3 separate regions of the Homo sapiens genome follow, and all the other regions are linked to region 2. The links are contacts of gene promoters, found by promoter capture Hi-C in human tissues and cell types (Jung and others, 2019). All regions are on one chromosome and are shown on one strand. Each heading gives the region's core, a stretch centred on a gene start or on the middle of the fragment in contact. The rest is flanking DNA. Distances are from core to core; before and after follow the strand shown. Region 1 overlaps CACNG5 (calcium voltage-gated channel auxiliary subunit gamma 5). Region 2 holds the start of CACNG5 (calcium voltage-gated channel auxiliary subunit gamma 5). Region 3 has its middle 61 kb from the start of CACNG5.

Region 1 (3,095 bases), core at 83-2,582, 40 kb after region 2:
CCATGGACCCCACTTTGGATAAACTCATGGGGTGGGAGTTTGAGAACGCAAGCCTTGAAAAAGGGCTTGGGAGTGGGGCAAGGTAAGGTTCAAATGCAGGCACCAACATTTGCCAGCTGAGTGCTCTTGTGCAAGCTTCTTAACCTCACTGATCATCAGTTTGCTCACCTGTAAAATGGGTGTGGTAATAGAATAGCCAGGATTAAAATGGGGAGTAAGGTGCTTAACAGGATGCCTAACAATGATAAACGTTCAATGTACTTTGGTGTTTATTATTAGTCTCTTCCTCCATGTTATCCAGGAGAAAATCAGTCTTCAGAGAGTGTCTTAGTTTGTTCTGTGTTGCTATAACAGAATACCTGAGACTGGATAATTTATAAAGAAAAGAGGTTTATTTAGCTCTTGGTTCTGCAGGCTGAGACGTTCAAGGCCATATCCCTGGCCTGTGATGAGGGCTTTCATAGGGCATCACGACAGAGCAGAGAAGGGCAAGAAGGAAACGGAGAAAACCTGAGGCTTTATAACAACTGTCTCAAGGGAACTAATTCATTCCTTCAAACTAATCCAGTCTTCGAGGGTGAGAACTCACCACCATGAAAACAGCACCAAGCCATTCCTGAGGGATTCCATGACCCCAGACACCTTCTGCTAGGCACACCTCCCAACACTACCACATTGAGGATCAAATTTCAACATGAGCTTTGGTGGGGGCAAACAAACCACCTTATCCGAACCATAGCAGAGAGGTTAATTTCCCAAGCTTACATGGATCTTTAGTGGCACGGTTGAGTGTAAGTTCAAGGCTCTGTTCGCCTTTGGGAGCCATATCCCTTTGTTCTCCACTGCTCCCCTTACTCCTGCTAACCATCCTTGGTGTTTCAATTCCATTTCCTTTGGCAGATGTTGGGACTTTGTGAGCTTCAAGTGTAAATGACAGGGTTTGGCTAACTACTATTAATATAAAAATACTATCAGTACAACGTCACTAGCACTTCCCACCAGTCGGCAGCAGCCTTGCCCTGGACCTCTGCTAGGAGTTGGCTTCTCTTCCCCAGGACCTGGGTTCTGCCTGTTATGATGCTACCCCACCTTCAGTCAGAATGGGATGCTGTGGTTTCCCATTTTTCCAGCTCGCAAACTCTGCAAGCGGCAGCACCTCTGATTTTGTTGCCTCTTCCTCAGCTGCAAGCACAGGGCTTATAGGCGCTTTACTAGATACTCATGCTAGATACAAACTGTCCTGCTCCCCTCTGCCCACGCTGTTGCATGGAGAATGATTTGGCTGGGTGGAGAGGGCTGTTTGGTGTTTCATTTCTCCCTCCTTTGTCAAAGCCAACACAGGAAGGATCATTGTGGCTTAAAGCCCTGTGCTCTTCAGCCTTGCAAACATGGACATAGACTCACACATGCCTCCAGGAAGCCAATATATGGCTCACTCTGTAGATCAATCAACTTTCCCATGATCAACTGCTAGAGCAGGGCCGGCGCTGTGGAATCAGGGCCAGCGTGCACCCCTCAACCCCTTCTCACAAAGAGGCTCTAAACTCTGCCACTCTCCTCCTACAGTCAACTCAGACTCTGCAGACAAATCTGGCTTCTGTCCATTTTCAGCTGCCTCAATACCCACCTGTGCCTCAAATCTCAACTGGAACATGATACCATCCCTGGGGCAGGGCCCTAGGACTCCACTGGAGCCCTGATATTGGTGGACTGCACCGAAGCACTGCTGCACCTCTTTCCCAAACATCACTAACATCCAGTTTCAAAAGTTCTGACTTTGCAATATTGCAAGGTGCCAGTGAAAGATGCCGACAGGATAGCAAACTTGCAGCCAAGGGTGGCTTGGGTGACACAACCTTTCTGAGTTGCCCCAGGCCTCATTCTCTTCTAGAGATGGCTCTGCCTGCCCCCTCCAGCCCCACTGGATGACCCCTTCTGGGCCCTTGTCATATCCTGGGCTTTCCCCATCATAGCAGTTGCTACATTACAATGCCATCAACTGTTTGCTTGGCACAGCACTTCTCAGATTTTAGTAGGCAGACAACTCACCGGGATCCTGTTAAAATGCAGATTTCAATTTAGGATGTTGGAGAGGCCAGAGAGTCTACTTTTCTAACCAGCTGCATGGTGATGCCTACATGGCTGGTCCATGGACCATACTTTGAGTAGCGAAGATCAGTTGTTTTGAACTTTGGCTACACATTAGAATCACCTGGCAGAATTTAAAAAATACCATTGTCCAGGCCCCACTTGAGCTCAATTGTATCAGAATCTCTTGGAGCAGCACCAGGGTATCAGGGATTTTTAGACACTTCCTAGGTGATTCTAGATTACAGCCAGAGCACAGAAGCCCTGAGACTGGCTATGGGCTCCACGGGGGCTGGCATCCATCTGCCTTGCTCTCCACTGTTTTCCAGCTCCAAGTCCAGTGCCTGACCCTGGCAGATATCAGCAGGTGGGGCTTGTGGTTGACCTTGCTTAGACACTTAGCTTCTCTTTTTCTCGTTCATTGCTGGCCCCTGCCGATACAGCGTGCTGAGCAGGTAAGAGTCAGCCCATTTCTGATTAGGTGGATTTAGGAGGCTGTTGCACTTGGACTGTGGTATGGCTTCTTTACTTGTGTTGACCAAGTGCTGCAACTTATTAGAGTCACATGAGGAGGACACTTTCCTCCAAGAAATCTTCCCTGCCTCTCTACTCCTTCCCAAGGCTGCTGCCATTTTCCTGTCTGGAGCTGGCATCTCTCACAGAGACTATTTGAGCCTCAGAATCCTTTTCAACACAGAGAAGCTCACCCAGCAGAGTTGTCTCCTCCATTCTTCCTCTCTACTTCCTGGACAGGTCTCTACCACAGCCCTCAATAGGTCGCATTTAATTGCTTTGGGGGTGCCTTTGTTCTTCTAGATGGGAAACCCTTCAATGGCAAGGATAGTGTCATGTTCATTTTTGTATCTCCCATGTCTGGCACAATGGGTTGCTGAATGAATGAATGAATGAATGAATGAATGAATGAATGGCAGTACCCAGCAAGGGGACTCCCAGAGAGGACAAGGGGGTCCTTGCAGTGGCATGCCAAGAACGCTCTGAATTGCTGC
Region 2 (3,367 bases), core at 64-2,563:
GTATTCTGGGGGATAGAGAAGAACACTCTTGGGGTAGGTGGGAAAAGGGAGAAAAAGCGGAAAACTGCATAGGCCTAAAATGCTGTGAATAGACACGTGGTGTATCCTTTCCAAAAACCTTCAGTTGTCCCAACTCCACCTGGCCCCATTCACATGTGACAAAGTCCTCCCATGTCAGGAGACCTCAGCAACATAGATGCTTCTATAAAAGTTTCTGCCCTACAGTTTTAAACTAATATGTTCACTGCTGATGTCTCATTATTTAGCAACCAACTTTGCCCCCAAATATTTCCACATGCCACATCTTTGACCCCCTCTTGGTCTGCAGGGATTTTACAGGCCTTTGAGGGGAAGCTGCTGGTCTGTGAGCATCTGCACAAGTGTGCCGGACAAAGATATCGGTCAGGCTGCCATTTCAAAGCAATAAAAGATATGTGGCTATGCAGGCCAGGAAGAGTTAGCCCTTGGGTTCCCCTTCCAACCTGGCTGACCACACTGGCTCCAGCTGCCACTTTCAAATTAGTCATAGATTAACAAACATCTATTGAGCACCTATTGGGTGTCCAGGACCCAGAGACTAAAGGAGACATAGAACCTAAGAAAGGAAGAAATGTTTTATTGTTAGTTGCCACCATTTATTGGACATATATTACCATTTTACTGTTAAGAGGGACAAACACTTTGCTTAAGGCCACACAGTACAAAAGCAGAGTGGGGCTTTAAAGGCTCAGATTCTGCACTTAGACAGGCCTGAGCTGCAGTCCTGGCTCTGCCATTTTCCAGCTGTGTGTCCTCAGACTCCTCACTTAAGCGCCCTGTGCCTCAGTCTTCTCATCTGTAAAATGGGATTCGTGTGAGAATTAAATGACTTAATACATGTGAAGCTCATTGAACGCTTACACTAGTAAGTGCTCAATAAATACTAGCTGGCATTGTTGTTCTATCACCATCATCATCATCATCATCATCATCATCATCCTTATTTAAAAGCAGCAGCAACGGCAGAGGCTGCAGCCCCAGCTGCTGGAATTTGAAGGTGAGTCTGACTCCAGGCAGGGTCTCCCAGCCCTATGCGGACTCTGAAAGCCTCTCCTCTCCCACGCCGGCCCCCAACTCTTCACCTGCCACCCCCACAAGGGTGCTCACCCCAGAGGTGCTCACCTCCCGGGCTGGGAGACCGCATCTGACCGGTCCCAAACCCCGCCTGCAGCTGGCAGCGCCGGGGTGGGGAGGCCCCGCCCTCGGCCCCGCCCCCTGCCCGCCCCTCCCTCTCGGGGTCCGGGGCGCGAGCTGCGGCGGCGGCGGCCACGGTCATTGGCGCCGAGCGGTTCCGGCTGACTGGACGGGGCGGGCGTCCCGGGCAGCCTAGCGCGGTACCTCCCGCCCCGCGCGCCCAGCCGGCGAGGGACATTGGACCAGGGTCGGGGGTCGCGGCCGCTCCAGCGAGGTAAGAGCCGGGAAGACCGGGAGAGACCACCTCTTCCATCCTGGGGGGGTCCCTGGGGGACGGTCTCCCACCGGTGCTGGGCCGCGGCGCCGGGCTGCGCCCCCATGACAGCCCAGCCAGGGGCAGGGGCTGGAGAGCCCTAGCGATCGCGCACCCTGGAAGGGGCAGTGTGGTGGGGAGCGCGGGCGTGTGTATGCGCGTGTGCGTGTGTCTGTCTGTCCATCTGTCTGTCCCAAGGATGTATCGGGGGAGATGATGACGCCCCCTCTTTGCAGTCGCTTCTAGGCAATTTACCCATGCCAAAGCTGAGGGCAGACTTTTCCACGACGGACTTGAATGGGGCTGGCAGATTATTATCCGGATAATGCAGGAAGGGATAAGCCCACCACCACCTGTTGAGCTGGGCTGTCGGCCTATGCGGGTCCAACTCCCCGCTTATCACAGCCTGCAGGGTGGCCTCATTTCTCCAGCTCGTGGGACCCGGGGCTTCCTTCTCCCGCCTGTGAGAAGGGTTGATAGGAGGAGGTGTCCCTGCCAGGAGCCACTGAGCAGAGATGGACTCGCGGGGGTGATCAGGGTGGTGCTATGGGGACCCCACCGCAGGTGCTGGGCGTGAGGTGTCAACCACCCAGGCACACCCCAAATTTGGATTTCCCCAATCACTCCAAAACCTCTCATTGTGATTCCCCGATCTTTGCTCTCATCCTAATTTGGCAGTTGATGAAGATGCAGCTCGTTAAAAATGTTAAAGTGAAATCAAATTATCACTTCCTAGGACTGAAAATGATTTGAGAAATAATTCCGGGAGCCTGGCTGGGGAGGAAAGAAGCTCATATTCTGACTAGCTTCTCCAGGGCTGCCCCGGGGCTGCCTCCGGTACCTGCCAGGCACGCCGGTGGTTAAGGAAGCCCTTGTTCCCAGAAAGGAAGGGATTCACCCACTTTGCACTGGATTATCAGTGACTGGGTTAGAGCAGGACCCAGGACAGGATCCCCAAGTGGGAGCTGTCTCAGTTTGACAGATGTCACATACAAGCTGTCACCGAGGCTGGCTTCTGCTCCACATCCATCCTGGGGAACACAAGATGGGGCTTCCCCTCCCAGCCACCTCACACCCATTCCCCTCATTTCCACAAACCTGAAGTCTTGATCAATTAACAGCCAGGATTGCCTGGGTGTGGGTGTGGGACCTTGATTGGCTCTGATGTCCTGGATTCAGAGTATCTCAGGACCACAGGCATCTCAGTGGCAGGTTGGTGGCACCTCTTTGCAGACCCTGTAGCCAGCCCCTCATGCCGAAGTCTCCTGCCTGCCTGAGAAGCCCTAGATCTGCCTCACTTCTCTGCTAACGCAGCCCCTGGAGGTAGCTGGGGGACACCTCATCTCAGGGCCAGGTCCCCAGGGTGCCTAACAGGGTGAAATCTGTGCTTGTGCCTGAGACCTCCCCACCCCCAAACCTCCTCTCTCTTGTCATGTGGAAGGCAGTGGATGTGCTGAGGGGCTGGGTAGTCCAGTTCAACGGAAGATAGAGGTGGCCCTGCTGTGGCTGGGGCTGTTGGTGATGTGAGAACCCCAGCATCCTGGCTGGCTGCACCCCAGGCCCCACAAGCCAACAGCACACTTGAGGGAGCTCAGCCATTCTCAGGCTTGTCAGCTGGGGCTCTGTGACTTGGTGCAGGGGGAGATTGGCTGAATTGTTCACGCTTGTTTGGAAGAGACTGGCCTTAGGTTGTTGTGGAAAACGTCGGCTCCAAACCCTGCTAGGTTCCTGACTGTGTGACACTGGCCAACTTACAGAATGCTTGGAGGCTCAGCCTCCTCACCTGTAAGATGGGTCTGGCAGGGGGTTTTGAGAATCAAGTAAGGTCATGAATGAATGACAGTGTCCATTTTACTGGAGGTGGTTCTGGGCTGGTGTTGT
Region 3 (3,411 bases), core at 143-2,642, 61 kb after region 2:
TCTTTCTCACTTTTTCATCCAGCACTGCTTTTACAATCTTCTGCTTTCCTCCATGAACATATAGTTCATTGCTCCTAACTGCTGCCAAGCACTCCACAGCCTTTACTTTTTGCCTAAACCCCAGTGAAAATCTCAGTAATTAACACCAGGAAAGTGGGATTTGGAGGCCAGAGTCTGACTTGACTCATGTTTAGGATCTGACACCAATTCCCCCAGCACTTCTCTTAGGTAGGGTTGCTTCCAACTCCCCTACAACACACGCACCAAACAGCACTGCTGAAAATACAGCTGTCCGTCTCCCCTTACAGATCTGGCAACCATTTCTTGGGGCTACACCGGGGGGTGGATGTAATGCATCGCAGGCTATGTTTGCACTTAATTTAATCCAACACGTTCTCATTGTTCTTCAGCAAAGATGCTCCAGTTCATACTCCCCGTGTCCCCCATCCCCGCTAAAACAGCCCAGAATTCCTCAGTCTCAACACTATTGACATTTTGAGCCAGAACATTCTTTGTTGTGGGTGCTGATCTTTGCATTGCAGGAAAGTTCAGCAGCATCTCTAGCCCCTACTCACAGGATGCCAGTAGCATTCGTATCCTCTGCTTGTGGCAACCAAAATCTCCAAATGTCCCCTGAGCGGAAAACTGTCTCCAGCTGTGAGCTACCTAGGCTTCCCTAGCTTTCTCCTTTTTGTCAATGTAGTGGGTTCCACCCTACATTTCCAGCAATCCTACAGCCACACTACCCTCAAAACCCCTGATCTCAGAAGTGAAGCAGGGTCAGGCCTGGTTAGTACCCGGCCGGTAGAAGATGGTACAACGAACTCCCTGGTACCCATCACTCAGCTTCCACGAGGACCAACTCATGTCTGACCCCAGATTCTTTAGAAGCAAATCCCAAACATCATATCACTTCTTCTGCAATGATTTCCCGCCATATTGGCAAAAAATCAGGATTCTTTTAAAATCACAATGCCAATAATACACTTAAAACAATAGTTTCTTGATGTCCTCAAATGTCCAGTTCAATGTTCAGATTTTCCTTATTATTATTATTATTATTTTTAGATGGAGTCTCACTCTGTCGCCCAGGCTGGAGTGCAGCGGCGCAATCTTGGCTCACTGCAACCTCCGCCTCCTGGGTTCAAGCAATTCTCTGCCTCAGCCTCCCGAGTAGCTGGGATTACAGGCACCCGCCACCATACCCGGCTAATTTTTGTATTTTTAGTAGAGACAGGGTTTCACCATATTGGCCAGGCTGGTCTTGAACTCCTGACCTCGTGATCCACCCGCCTCAGCCTCCCAAAGTGCTGGGATTACAGGTGTGAGCCACTGAGCCTGGCCGATTTTCCTAGTTATTATCTAAAACATGCATATGTGTCGGTGCTTTCCTGTTTATCAAGACCCATGTAATATCCTGGCCTCACAATTGCTTTCAGGTCTCTTACATTTCATCCTTGAGTTTCTCAGCCTTACCCACTATCAGTCGGCCCATAGCCCGGAATGTTCTGACTGTATCACCCTGGGGTTGGTGAATGTTTCCCTCCATTGCATTTCCTGTGAATTGGTAGACGGATCTAGAAGCTTGATTGGTTGCAGGTCTGACTTGTTGACAGTGAAACTCCTTCAGGAGACATGTGACACCTGGCCATCTGGCTGTCTCTTTTTTTTTTTTTTTTTTTGAGACGGAGTCTCGGTCTGTCATCCAGGCTGGAGTGCGGTGGCGCCATCTCGGCTCACTGCAAACTCCGCCTCCCGGGTTCAAGCAATTCTCCTGCCTCAGCCTCCCAAGTAGCTGGGATTACAGATGGCCACACAACACCCAGCTAATTTTTGTATTTTTAGTAGAGACAGGGTTTCACCATGTTGGACAGGCTGGTCTCGAACTCCTGACCTCAAGTGATCCTCCCGCCTCAGCCTCCCAAAGTGCTGAGATTATAGGCATGAGCCACCGCGCCCGGCCGTGGCTATCTGTCTTCCGGGAAGTTAGCAGTCATTAATAGTCACAGCCCAGGTTCATTACGCTGTTAGTGGTTGCGCAGAGGTGATGTTCTAACACCATTCTTTCTTCATTATGAGCTGGAGTACTGCTGTTCTGAGAAACCGCCCTTCAACTGCTCTCAAGTTTCTCTACTTTGGTCCTCATTCCACCCTGTGGCTGCACACAACTGCCCTACAGATGCACCCAGGCCCCAGTGCATGGACATGGAGACCGTTTCCAGCAAAAACATCCACCTGTAACATTCTGCCAGCCCCCCATCCTCAGAAGTCACTCTCATCTTCATTTTTCACAAATCTCCAAGTCGTGAATATTTGTGTCCTTATCCTTTCTGGCTCCTGTGTTTTTCTTCTGCTTCAAGGCCATGAAACAACCACATTGAGACGTCTCCTCTAAGAAGTCTGCCCTGATTCAATGTCTCGAGAATGGCCACTTCTTTGCCAGGTTTTGGAGAGGCCCAGGGCAAGGCTAGAGGCCATTCCCAGGGAGGCTGGGAGGGTTTCAAGTTTGCCTTGGCACAGAGCGATGTTGCCGGGAGCTAACACCCCCACTTCTGCTCCCACGTGGAGAGGGGCCTTTCCTGGAGGCCCCCGCCAGCTGTGAGTCACCAGCTCCTGAGCCCCAAACCCCATAGAAGAAATGCAAATGGATTCTGGTGAATAGAGAACTCAAGCCACCTCCGTGTGGGAGAGGATGTTATAATATCAGGCTGTCGGCAAATTAACGTTATTAAACAAATGCACCAAAATAGCAGCCATAATTATTCCCATACAGTAGCTCAATCTGGAACTTTCAGGGTGTTTTTGTTCCCCCCCCAAACACAGGGCTGTCGCTGCTCCTGTGGTCCTTCCTCCTTCCTTCTCTGCAAGATGCTGCAGAGCAAAGGGGCCTCAAGCAAGCTCCCAGAACCTCTTTGTTTCCCTGGGAAATGATAAAATCATGGGAGCTAAGATTTCTTCAACACCTAAGTGCCAGGCCCTTTACGTATGAAACTCGATTTACAACCTGATGAAGGAAATGCTGTTGTTCCCATTGGACAGATTAGCAAGCTGAGTCCAAGAGAGGCCATGTAACTTGCCTTGCGGTCACTGGGCTTGAGGATATGAACGCCTGGGCTTGAGCAACCTCTGACCTTTGCCTTTTGCTCTGACTTGCTGCTCCAAATGTTCTTCTCCCCAATATCTTCCTCTGTCTCTCTAGAGACGCTTCACCTCAAAGTACCTGCCCATGGCACCATGGCTTTTGAAGGCTGCTCTGTTCCAGGGAGCTCCGTTATCTCCCTGCTCGGGGTGGCCTGTGCCCAGGGCCAGGTTTGGGCCAGGGTCCCTTGCAGGAGAGCAGAACAGTGGGGATCGAGGAGGGGTGAGGTGCCAGCAGAGGCCAGCTTCCTGGCAAGTTGGCATGAGGACACA

Evidence for each region. The method cuts DNA at HindIII sites, captures the fragments that hold promoters and counts their contacts. A contact is called where the count stands out against the background at its distance.
Region 1: a fragment that was not itself captured here is called in contact with the fragment with the promoter of CACNG5 in region 2 in 5 of the 25 tissues and cell types used here (H1 embryonic stem cells, adrenal gland, dorsolateral prefrontal cortex and 2 more).
Region 3: a fragment that was not itself captured here is called in contact with the fragment with the promoter of CACNG5 in region 2 in 3 of the 25 tissues and cell types used here (aorta, lymphoblastoid cells and ovary).

What each region holds. Positions count from the first base shown.
Region 1 is chr17:66,874,002-66,877,096 of GRCh38, forward strand. The region is part of intron 1 of CACNG5 (calcium voltage-gated channel auxiliary subunit gamma 5); the gene reads left to right. Among named protein-coding and RNA genes, the nearest start is that of CACNG5, 40 kb to the left of the region's middle. The HindIII fragment of the contact is 7,302 bases long and covers 1-3,095 here.
Region 2 is chr17:66,833,804-66,837,170 of GRCh38, forward strand. CACNG5 (calcium voltage-gated channel auxiliary subunit gamma 5) reads left to right here and starts at 1,314. Exons shown (of 6, transcript NM_145811.3): 1 at 1,314-1,447. The HindIII fragment of the contact is 10,169 bases long and covers 1-3,367 here.
Region 3 is chr17:66,894,762-66,898,172 of GRCh38, forward strand. It overlaps the pseudogene RNA5SP446. Among named protein-coding and RNA genes, the nearest start is that of CACNG5, 61 kb to the left of the region's middle. The HindIII fragment of the contact is 8,798 bases long and covers 1-3,411 here.